2 separate regions of the Homo sapiens genome follow, and region 1 is linked to region 2. Evidence: promoter capture Hi-C in 16 types of primary human blood cells and fetal thymus (Javierre and others, 2016). All regions are on one chromosome and are shown on one strand. The core of a region is centred on a gene start or on the middle of the fragment in contact, and the rest is flanking DNA. Distances in the headings are between cores, read along the strand shown. Region 1 holds the start of ACVR2B (activin A receptor type 2B). Region 2 holds the start of DLEC1 (DLEC1 cilia and flagella associated protein).

Evidence for each region. The method cuts DNA at HindIII sites, captures the fragments that hold promoters and counts their contacts. A CHiCAGO score of 5 or more calls a contact.
Region 1: a contact is called between the fragment with the promoter of ACVR2B here and the fragment with the promoter of DLEC1 in region 2, in 1 of 17 cell types (fetal thymus). The highest score is 6.1, in fetal thymus.

The regions. Positions count from the first base shown.
Region 1 is chr3:38,449,846-38,455,209 of GRCh38, forward strand. It overlaps ACVR2B (activin A receptor type 2B), which reads left to right and starts at 4,045. Exons shown (of 11, transcript NM_001106.4): 1 at 4,045-4,529. The coding sequence starts at 4,478. It overlaps ACVR2B-AS1 (ACVR2B antisense RNA 1), which reads right to left and starts at 4,975. Exons shown (of 2, transcript NR_028389.1): 1 at 4,658-4,975; 2 at 1,182-3,380. It also overlaps a transcript of XYLB not described here. RefSeq lists enhancers at 3,627-4,126, 4,731-5,314, 5,315-5,364 and silencers at 3,845-3,894, 3,905-4,024, 4,445-4,724. The HindIII fragment of the contact is 9,112 bases long and covers 1-5,353 here.
Region 2 is chr3:38,037,011-38,041,936 of GRCh38, forward strand. It overlaps DLEC1 (DLEC1 cilia and flagella associated protein), which reads left to right and starts at 2,198. Exons shown (of 37, transcript NM_007335.4): 1 at 2,198-2,626. The coding sequence starts at 2,216. RefSeq lists enhancers at 2,263-2,472, 2,763-2,992. The HindIII fragment of the contact is 3,706 bases long and covers 1-2,560 here.

The DNA of each region.
Region 1 (5,364 bases), core at 2,795-5,294, 410 kb after region 2:
TTAGCACAGCATAATCTAATCTCTCTTGAGAGATAGTGTTAGCTTTCTACCCAAGCCAATTCATTTTTTTGACCTCAAGTAACCACCATTAAGTTAAGAGAAAGGGGCGGGGAAAGTACGAGGTCTAGGAAGAAAATAAATAAGGCAAAGAAATAAAGCACTTTGAGAACTGTGTCTAGGAAATAACAGATAGCTTATTAAGTCTTGGGGGAACTGTATTACCAAAGAAAGTATACACTGCCCACCCCTCCCCCAACAATTATACACTGTGAATGGTACTCTCATAAAATTGTTTAATTTCGTATTGCTATGCCTAAATTACCCACTACAGTGAATGTCTAACCAGGGCCTCTCAGAAACTGAGAGAGGGTGAGGCCACTTATATTTTCTCAAATGAAGAAATTCCCAAATAACATTATAAAAACTGTGGTTACTTTCAAAGTTTATCTTGCTAAATGAATGTATTTAATCCCTTAATAGAATTCATTATAATTATATAGATGCCAAGTCTTATTACAATGCTATAGTTTTCCATCTTCTTCCATAGCTTGATACTAAAGAATGTCATGTTCAACTGATTCTTCTCAATTCCTTGGTTTCTGGTCTTGATTGTTGAAGGGTGGGGAAGCCAGGGAATAGTGGTCCTAACACACTGAATGCCTTAATGGCAGAATTCACTGCCATAAATTCTACAGCAGACATTTGGGGTTTCAGATTTTTTTTGCCTTTCAGTTTTTGGTCACCCGATGTCTGATACCAAATGTGATATTTAGCAATCTTGTAGTCGTTCAAAAGAACAGAAAACCCAAATAGAACTCGTTTTTCAAATATCCATTATCACCTTTCTCAACCAGCCTAGTATTTGCTTGATGAGCTCATGATCAAAATGATGGCAGGGAATCACTTTGGTTACTATATGGAAGATTTATTTAAGGCAAGAATGAATTCAGAGGACCAGTTAAGCTCCCTTCTGGTTCACTGCTATTGCAACAGTCCAGATATAAGACAATGTTGCAGTAGTGTACATGGAAAAAAGTAGTCGGATGGTGGATACACTTTTGAGGCTATTTTGCTGATGGACTGTATATGGGAGGAATCAAGTATTGTTACCGAAACACCAGGGGTTTGGTCTAGGTCCTGCTGCTCGGTGCACAGAAAGCCAATCACTGAGATGACAAGTATTGCCAAGGAAGAAGGCTTTAATCAGGTGCTGCAGCCAAGGAGATGGGAGTGCAGTCTCAAATCCATCTCCTTGACTGACCAAAACCAAGGGTTTATATAGCAGGAAAGAAATGTAACAATATGTAAGAAAACAGGAACATGGGAGGGGCAAGGAAGCAATCATGGTGACTGAGGGGCCCAGCATCTAGTGCAGTGATCTGGTTTCAGTTCTTTTGATACTTTTTATGGCTTCAGTTCTTTGATACTTTTTGTGAGAGGCCTGAAGGTCCTTTCCTGAGGAAGGAACTCGGATAAAACAAGTAAGTTTCCAGCTTTAACTGCAAAAGGGTCAACTTCTATAATCCCAGCACTTTGGGAGGCTGAGGCAGGCAGGTCACCTGAAGTTGGGAGTTCAAGACCAGCCTGGCCAACATGATGAAACCCTGTATCTACTAAAAATACAAAACTTAGCTGGGCATGGTGGCGTGCCTGTAATTCCAGCTACTTGGGAGGCTGCGGCAGGAGAATCACTTGAACTCAGGAGGTGGAGGTCGCAGTGAGCCGAGATCGTGCCACTGCACTCCAGTGAGGGCAATAAGAGCCAAACTCTGTCTCAAAAACAAAAACAAAAACAAAAACAAAAACAACTGTCTATGGGACTCTTTGGCTGGTTTCAGTAGGACTCATAAGGTTCTGATTTGAGCAATGGTGTAGTTGCTTATGCCATTGATTCAGACAGGGAAAACTGGGGAGGAGATTTACGGGGAAAATGAGGACTTCTGCTTTGGCTAGGTCAAATTTGAGATGCCTGATAGGCTACCAACTGCAGTTGTCAAGTAAGCAGTTGGATATAAATTTGGGGTTCCCAGACAGGTCAGAGTGGAAGACACAGATATTTGGGCAGCTTGGACCACTCTGAGTCCTTATTATGATACCTGACCTGGTATGGAGTAGAAGAGAGGAACCAGCCAATCTAATTTTTGGCACATGGATAAAAGTCGATACCTTTCAGTCCATATTGGAATGGAGATAACGATTTATACTCCCTAGAAAAGACACTTAAACTGGATATGGAATTACTTCCGTTATCACAGTCTATCACTGTGGCCTCCTGTGTTATTACCAGATACCTTATACACAGCTAGGGTGTCCCATACAACACTGCTTCTTGCTTGGCACACAGTCGCATAGTATTCAATCCTGTGTTAAATGGCTTAGATAATAAGTCACCTGTAGGGATTATAGCAAGCAGGGACCATCATTTTCACATAGAATTTCCCAGGACTGGAAGGGACTTTTAAAGACCCAGAAATCTTTCTGGGCAGTGCCTCCAAAGTGTGGCCCCTGAGGTGTTCCTGCTGCTCTGGTGACCGGGGGTAGTTGACCCTATTTCAATGTCAATCAGAACAATATACATTCCTTTATAAACTTGTTTTTTTTTTGAGAGAGAGTCTCACTCTGTCACCTAGGATGGAGTGCAGTGGTGCAATCTCAGCTCACTGCAACCTCCGCCTCCCTCCTGTGTTCAAGCGATTCTCCTGCCTCAGCCTCCTACCGAGTAGTTGGAATTACAGGTGTGTGTCACCATGCCCAGCTAATTTTTGTATTATTTAGTAGAGACAGGTTTTTGCCATGTTGGTCAGGCTGGTCTCGAACTCCTGACCTCAAGAGCCTCCTGGGCCTCTAAAAGTGCTGGAATTACAGGTTTGAGCCACCTCGCCCTGCCTATAGTGAACATTTACATAATATTTTGTTTGACTAGGTTTCTGCCATTAAGAAGATGCAAAACCCTGAGGGAGTGTACCTCTTCACTTTGCATATGGGAAAACTGAGGCTCAGAGAAGTGAAATGACTGAGACCTCCAGGTGCCACCTCCCTTTCAGCTGCTCCTGCCCTGCTCCAAGCAAGGATGTGCCAAGTCAAGAGAAGACAGAGGACAATTAATGTTATCTGAGGATCTCGGAGCCTCATCCCTGAGCTATGATGGTCTTTCCCTCCTTAGTTGGGAGCCCCATCACGTTCCTCCGAAGCTCTAGTTGTGTGATAAGGAGGGTGGAATCTGAGACAGAGAACGATGGCCCTCCAAGGAGGGAGTTCGGGGTGAGGAAAACAGCAAAACCATGTGCTAGACAAGATCTTCAACTGCAGGGCTCTGGAGGCAACTGGGAAGTTTTGAAAGTGCAGATTGAAGCTCAGGGCCGCTGTGGGTGGCGCAGGAACTGCAGAAGACAAGATAGGATTAGGGAGGGCCAGCAGGTTGCCAGAGGCCCTTTTCCACCTGCTGGGCTTAGAGGGGCGGGACTCTGCCCGCTCCCTCACTTGGTTGGGTTTAAATGACCACTCCCCGCCCTAGCTGTGCCTTTGAGTGTGTGGCAAGGGATTGCAGACGGGAGACTGCTTGTCAATTCAGGGAAGTCAGCCTCTTTCTGCCACTTAATTCGCCCATCAGTAGAGATCCGACTTTCCCACGGTTCACTGTCACCCCCATTGCACAGGTGGGGAATCCAAGGCACAGAGGCGTCTGGGCCAGAGTCCCGGGACTATCCACTCATTCCGGGGTTGTAGGGCAGCATGTGTCAGGAGCTTGGGCTCGAGCGTGCGGGGCACTAATTGCGAGTGCAGTGGCCACAGGCTCCCGGGCAAAGTGGTCAGGAGCCCATTCCCGCCACCTCCGTCCGCGCGCCCCGCCCTGTCCTCCAGCAAGTTGGTGCACGCGCGTCCTCCCACAGGGCGCGGGATGGGGGCGGGGCCTCCGTGTTGTTGTTTCTCTGGGGCCCCGCCCCTCAGGGGGGCGCGGACCACGCGGCCGGAGGGCCCGCCTCCCCTCCCCCTCCCCGCCCAGCCCGCCCGCCTCTTTGTATCCAACATCCGGGTTTCCCCGCTGGCTCGGCTCCGTGGCCGCCGCTCAGGAGCCATTTTGGACTCGGTTCAGCTCCCCTCCCCCCCACCCCTCCCCCCGTTCATGGCCCCTCCGGACTCGGCCCCTGCGCCCGGGGCCCGGGCCCAGCCCCGCCGCGCTATGCCTGAGTCGGGCGCGCCCCGGCCCGTGCCCCGCCGCCGCCCCCCGGCCCCCGCGTCGCCCCGGAGCCCGGGCCGCAGCCTGCGCCGCCCGCAGCGGCCCTGAGCCCGGCCCCGCCGACCGGCCCTTGGAGCCCGAACGCTGCTCGGGGACGAAGGCGCAGGAAGCGCGCAGGGAACGAGACCGAAGGAAGGAGCGGGAAGGAGAGCGCAGCCGCCGCCTGGCCCTGCGCGCCCCGGGAGCGCCGTGCGGCCCTGCCCGCGGGCTCCGGGTGTGCGCGGGGCGGCGCCGCGGAACATGACGGCGCCCTGGGTGGCCCTCGCCCTCCTCTGGGGATCGCTGTGCGCCGGTAAGAACTGGGCGCGGCGCGGGGACGCCGAGAGGGCGCGCGGGGCTGGCCTCTGGCGCCGCGCGGTGTTTACCAACAAAGGGCGGGCCCGGGGCCTCGTCGCCGCACCACCTGTATTCAGCCCTCACCTCCGGGGGCGTGGGCTGGGGGCGCGGTGGGCGCCCGGCTCGCCGAACTTGGGGGCACGATCTTGTCTGTGCAGTCATCTGCGGGATTCTGGTTCCTAGAGGCGCCCCTGCGATGGGGGCCGGGACGCGGAGCCTCAGGGTCGGAGTTCGGGCTACGCGGGCGCGTGGAACCCAGGGAAAGAGTGAGGAAAACCTGAGCGTGGGGAAGGCGGCCAAGAGGGGTGGGCAGATCTCATTGGGGGTGGCAGGATTGTAGGTGCAGCAGCAGCAGCAGCATGCGGGGAGGGTTGCATGTCCCTCAGAGTCACTAAGTGTAGCGAAGCGAAGGGGGCGGCTTCACGCAGCCCAAAGTCCCCTGCATCTCTTGCCACCAGTCTGCGTCGCGTTACCGGCCCGGCGGGCTGTTGGTGCTGGCTCCCACCTGCTCCCTCTTTCCCTGCCGTTGGCCCCGGGATGCGGAGTGTGGTCGCTTCGCGGGACCGCTTTGTTTGGGCACTTGGGAGGGGAGGGGGTGGGTAAGATGGAAAACCCAACAGGTCCCTCTTCCTTCGGGCCTCCAGGAGGCACGTGGCGGGGTGGGTGACCAGCGCTCAGCTCGCCCGCGGCTGCGGGCGTGTGGCTGGAGGTGTTCGGCCAGCGCATGTGTGTTTGGGGGTATGTGGGCGCGGGCGTAAACAAGCGGAGTTCCGCCTGGAAAGCTTGTTTCT
Region 2 (4,926 bases), core at 948-3,447:
AGCACCAGAGGCTGCTGAGATGAGGACTGAGGGGGGACTGTTGCCACTGGAGAGACAGGAGGGTTGCTGGTAACCTTAGCCTGGAGCCAGAGGGGGGAGGGGTCATGCAAAGGGAGACCTCTCCCAGGCTAGTCAGACTCTGTGACTGTCTCTGAGGCTGTCTAGAGGCAGGGTGGAGAAGCCAAAAGTAATGGCAAGAGTCCATTGTCCTGTCCTTCCCTATAACAGGGAAGGGGGCCAGAGAGCCTCCACAAGCGGAACTGCTCCTAAATGACAAGACCACCCAACTGGGGCTCCATTTGCCACATTAGAGCAATGGAGGCCCCCAGACTGTTGCACCCCTCTTCCTACCCACAGCTCCTTCCTGCACCACTGGGGGCCTTGCATGCTTGTGGAAAATTGGAGAAATGCCTGTTTGCCAAAGCTCCCTCCACTTCCCTCCTCCTCCCCCCACCATAGCTACCCTTTTAAGTCAGCCCTGGGAGGATAAACTTAAAGAAGAGGCCTGCATAGGCCCTGGAATGAACTCAGGACATGTGGGCACATACTTTTGGGGTCCCATGTGCCTGGAGGCGAGGCACGGGGCACATCATCTTGGCCCTGTGATCTCTTACTCTGTGGGAAAGAGTGCGGGGGACAGCCAGAGATGGGCCTCTCAAGCACACAGTCCAGGGCAGGCGGCCCTGGCTTCTCAGCTCTCAGGACAGAAAAGGTCCTGGAAAGGACAAAAGAGAGAGCCAGGCCCAACCAAGAGAAGTAGAAGTGGAAGTAGCCCAGGTGTGTGGGCAAGCATGCTAGCACTCATCTCTGGAAGTGGGTTTCAGGATGTAAGGCAAGCAAACTCAGTGTGGAGTAGAAAGTGGTTGGTTGTATCACCTGTGAGCAAAAGCCATGGTGTGCAAATGACAACAGTCAATGTGATGTTATGCTGCTGCCCTGGACAAATGCAGTCCTCTTTTCCATCTCAGTGATGCTGTCATCACCCCCCTGATTGCACACACAGGATACCTGGGAGTCATTCTTGGTGCCTGTTTCTTACCTCCCATTATCCACCAGCAAGTCTTATCAATTCTACTTTTTGGATCTATCTCCAATCCAGTTCCCTCTCTCTCATCCAATCTCCCTTCATCTCTTTCCTAACTTCTGTGCTAGTTTCCTAACTGAACTTCCTGATGCCTCTTGCCTCTCCTGTCTATTCTCATAGCAATCAGAATGATCTTAGTAAAACAGAGCTGACCATGACATGCCCCAGCTTAAGACCCTTGATGAACCTCCTACTGCCCTCAAAATAAAGTCCAAATTCCCTATTGTGGCCTACCAACCCACTTATGATCTGGCCCTAACCTATCAGTGTCATTCCTCCACCCTCACACTCTTTAAGTTCCACTCCTCCTGAATTTCATTCCGTCCTTCCCACATTTTTAAATATTTTGTAAAGATGGGGTCTCCCTATGTTGCCCAGGCTGGTCTCAAACTCCTGGCTTCAAGTGATCCTCGTGCCTCAGCCTCCCAAAGTGTTGGGATTACAGGTGTGAGCCACCACACACACGCTCTTATTTAGGTACTTTTTTGTTTTTTGTCATTCTACTAACTGTAGTACTGCATTGTGGTTTTAATTTCCACTTCTTTGATGACTAATGATGTTCAGTCTACTCCTTCTTTGAAATCTCTGCTTGGTTTTCATTTGTTCCAAGAAGTAATCGCTCCTTCTACAGACTAAGTTCCTGTCCTCCTTTGTAGTTCCATGACAACCAATATTTATCTCCACCTTGGCCTTAACCCACTAAAGTACAGTTGTTTTACTTTTACCTCCACACCCACCGCCATCATCACAAACACACACATACACGACTGTGCACTTCCTGAAGGCAGAAGCAGCATCATACTTCTTTGGTATCTTCAGCAATCAGCACAGACCTGAAACACAATCTTTACACAATAAATATGATGAGTGAATGAACAGTTGCTTAACAAATTAAAGAATGGATGAAGGTAGGTAGTTAGGTACAAGGTTTTGCAGATAGGCCTGGCTGTGTCAATTAAACCTTTCTTCATGGGTCCTCACACTTAGTAAGCTCACTTTTAAAAGGACAATGCTGAAGACACAAATGTTTACAATGACCACAGCGATGACGGGATCCGAGAGAAAGGCAAGGCGGAAGGGGTGAGGCCGGAAGCCGAAGTGCCGCAGGGAGTTAGCGGCGTCTCGGTTGCCATGGAGACCAGGAGCTCCAAAACGCGGAGGTCTTTAGCGTCCCGGACCAACGAGTGCCAGGGGACAATGTGGGCGCCAACTTCGCCACCAGCCGGGTCCAGCAGCCCCAGCCAGCCCACCTGGAAGTCCTCCTTGTATTCCTCCCTCGCCTACTCTGAGGCCTTCCACTACAGCTTCGCAGCCCGGCCCCGCCGCCTCACGCAGCTTGCGCTGGCGCAGCGTCCCGAGCCTCAGCTGCTTCGTCTGCGCCCCTCCTCGCTGCGCACCCAAGATATCTCGCACTTGCTCACCGGCGTCTTCCGCAACTTGTACTCAGCCGAGGTCATCGGCGACGAAGTGAGCGCAAGCTTGATCAAGGCCCGCGGCAGCGAGAATGAGCGCCACGAGGAGTTCGTGGACCAGCTGCAGCAGGTAACGTGGCGGTGGCGTCGCGTCTGCGGACGGTGCCGGGGTCTCAGCGCTCGGCACGCGTCAGCACCTGCCAGGTGCCAGGCGCTGTTCCAGGATCTGGGGCTGCAGTTGAGAAACAGCCCATCATGCCGAAGTGGGCCCGACATTCTAGTGGAAGGACGCTCTATCCATACACACACATGCGCAAATACCACACATACCACACAACGTGCGGCATATATCTGTAGCACCTGTCTATATTTCTCTAGACACATACGTTATATATTGCATATATCAATGAACGACTGCGGCAGACCGCTGAATAGTTGTTCCATGGAGAGGATAAAGCCAAAAGTCACCCGGCTTTGGGGTGCCTTTGTATCACAAACCACAATCTTGACTGGGCCATTCATGCGCAGATTTTAGGAAGCGTGTCTAGCCTCTAGAACAGCAACTCTGCTTCCTCATCTGTACAAGGAGAAAACCAGCTGACTCGCGGCCTCTGTGCTGAGTCGGCCTCTGCTGGCCACACTACTGAAGACTCCCTTAAACTTGTGGGCACTCCTCCCATACCCGATCCTTTACCCCGGTGTGCTTCCTGCCTCTCAGATCTTCTTCTTCTCCTTTCTGTTCTGTCCTCTACCTGCCCCTTAAGTGACATGCATCCCACGTCGTTAGCTTCAGTCATTCCTTCACTTAACACATTTGTTGAATGTCTGCTGGGTGTCATACTCTGTTCTAGGCAGTGGGGATTCAGCAGTGAATAAAAACGCCAGTGTTCGGGCACACCCACACTCACACACGCAACCTGTCCTCTGTAGCTTTCAACCTAACTGAGGTAGATAGACATTAACAAAATGAATACCTATACAGTATGTGAGATACTTACAGGACCAGTCTCGCCGCCTCCACGGGTTATAGGCTTCTTAAAGTGCAGCCAGAGCCCCTGGCTGGGATCCTGTACTCTGTGATTCGTGGGTCACCACATTCACTCTGCTAAGACTTCAGCCTACCCAGCCAGACCTTGCCCTTGAACTTCAGACTCACATCCCTGTCATTCACATGAGCCAGAATATATGGAGCATTATAAACCTATAAACCCCATGACCAGTCACCCAGTTCACTGGATTCTATCTTCTCAGTATCTGTCCCATAAGTAGCCACTATACCAGAGTCTGAATTGGCAAATAGTGATCCCTTTTTTTGAAGAAAAAAAGTAATACATATTACAAATTTTTTTTTTTGACAGAGTCTGGCTCTGTTGCCCAGGCTGGAGTGCAGTGATGTGATCACAGCTCACTGCAGCCTTAACATCAGGGGCTCAACTGATCCTCCCTCCTCAGCATCTGGAGTAGCTAGGACCACAGGTGTGCACCAGTATGCCCAGCTTATTTATTTATTTATTTATTTATTTGAGATGGAGTCTCACTCTGTCACCCAGGCTGGAGTGCATGGCGCAATCTCAGCTCACTGCAAGCTCCACCTCCCACATTCATGCCATTCTCCTGCCTCAGCCTTCTGAGTAGCTGGCGCCTGCCACCACACCTGGCTAATTTTTTTGTATTTTTAGTAGAGACAGGGTTTCACTGTGTTAGCCAGGATGGTCTCGATCTCCTGACCTCGTGATCTGCCCACCTTGGCCTCCCAAAGTGTTGGGATTACAGGCATGAGCCACCACATCTGGCCTAAATTTTTATTTTTTAAAAATTGTGAGATGGGGTCCCACTATGTTGCCCAGGCTGGTCTCAAATTTCTGGCCTCAATTGATCCTTCCACCTCAGCCTCTCCAGATGCCGGTATTACAGGTGTGAGCCACTGTGCCTGGCCCACATTATAAAAATCTTAATTTAGAAGCTGAAATTTAATTTAAACATTTGAAGTTTTAAAATTGCAGAAATTTCAGAATGCAGAAAAGTTTAAAGAGTGATCCCCTATAGAAATACAACTATGCGGCCGGGCGTGGTGGCTCACGCCTATAATCCCAGCACTTTGGGAGGCCGAGGCGGGCAGATCACGAGGTCAGAAGTTTGAGTCCAGTCTGACCAACATAGTGAAACCCTGTCTGTACTAAAAATACCAAAAATTAGCCGGGCGTGGTGGTGTGTGACTGTAATCCCAGGTACTCGGGAGGCTGAGACAGGAGAATTGCATGAACCCAGGAGGCGGAGGTTGCAATGAGCCAAGACTGCACCACTGCACTCCAGCCTGGGCGACAGAACGAGACTCCGTTTCAAAAAAAAAAAAAAAAAAAGAAATACAACTATGCAAAGATAAGTTGACTTTATAAATTATGGTATATTCACACTATGGAATACTACAAA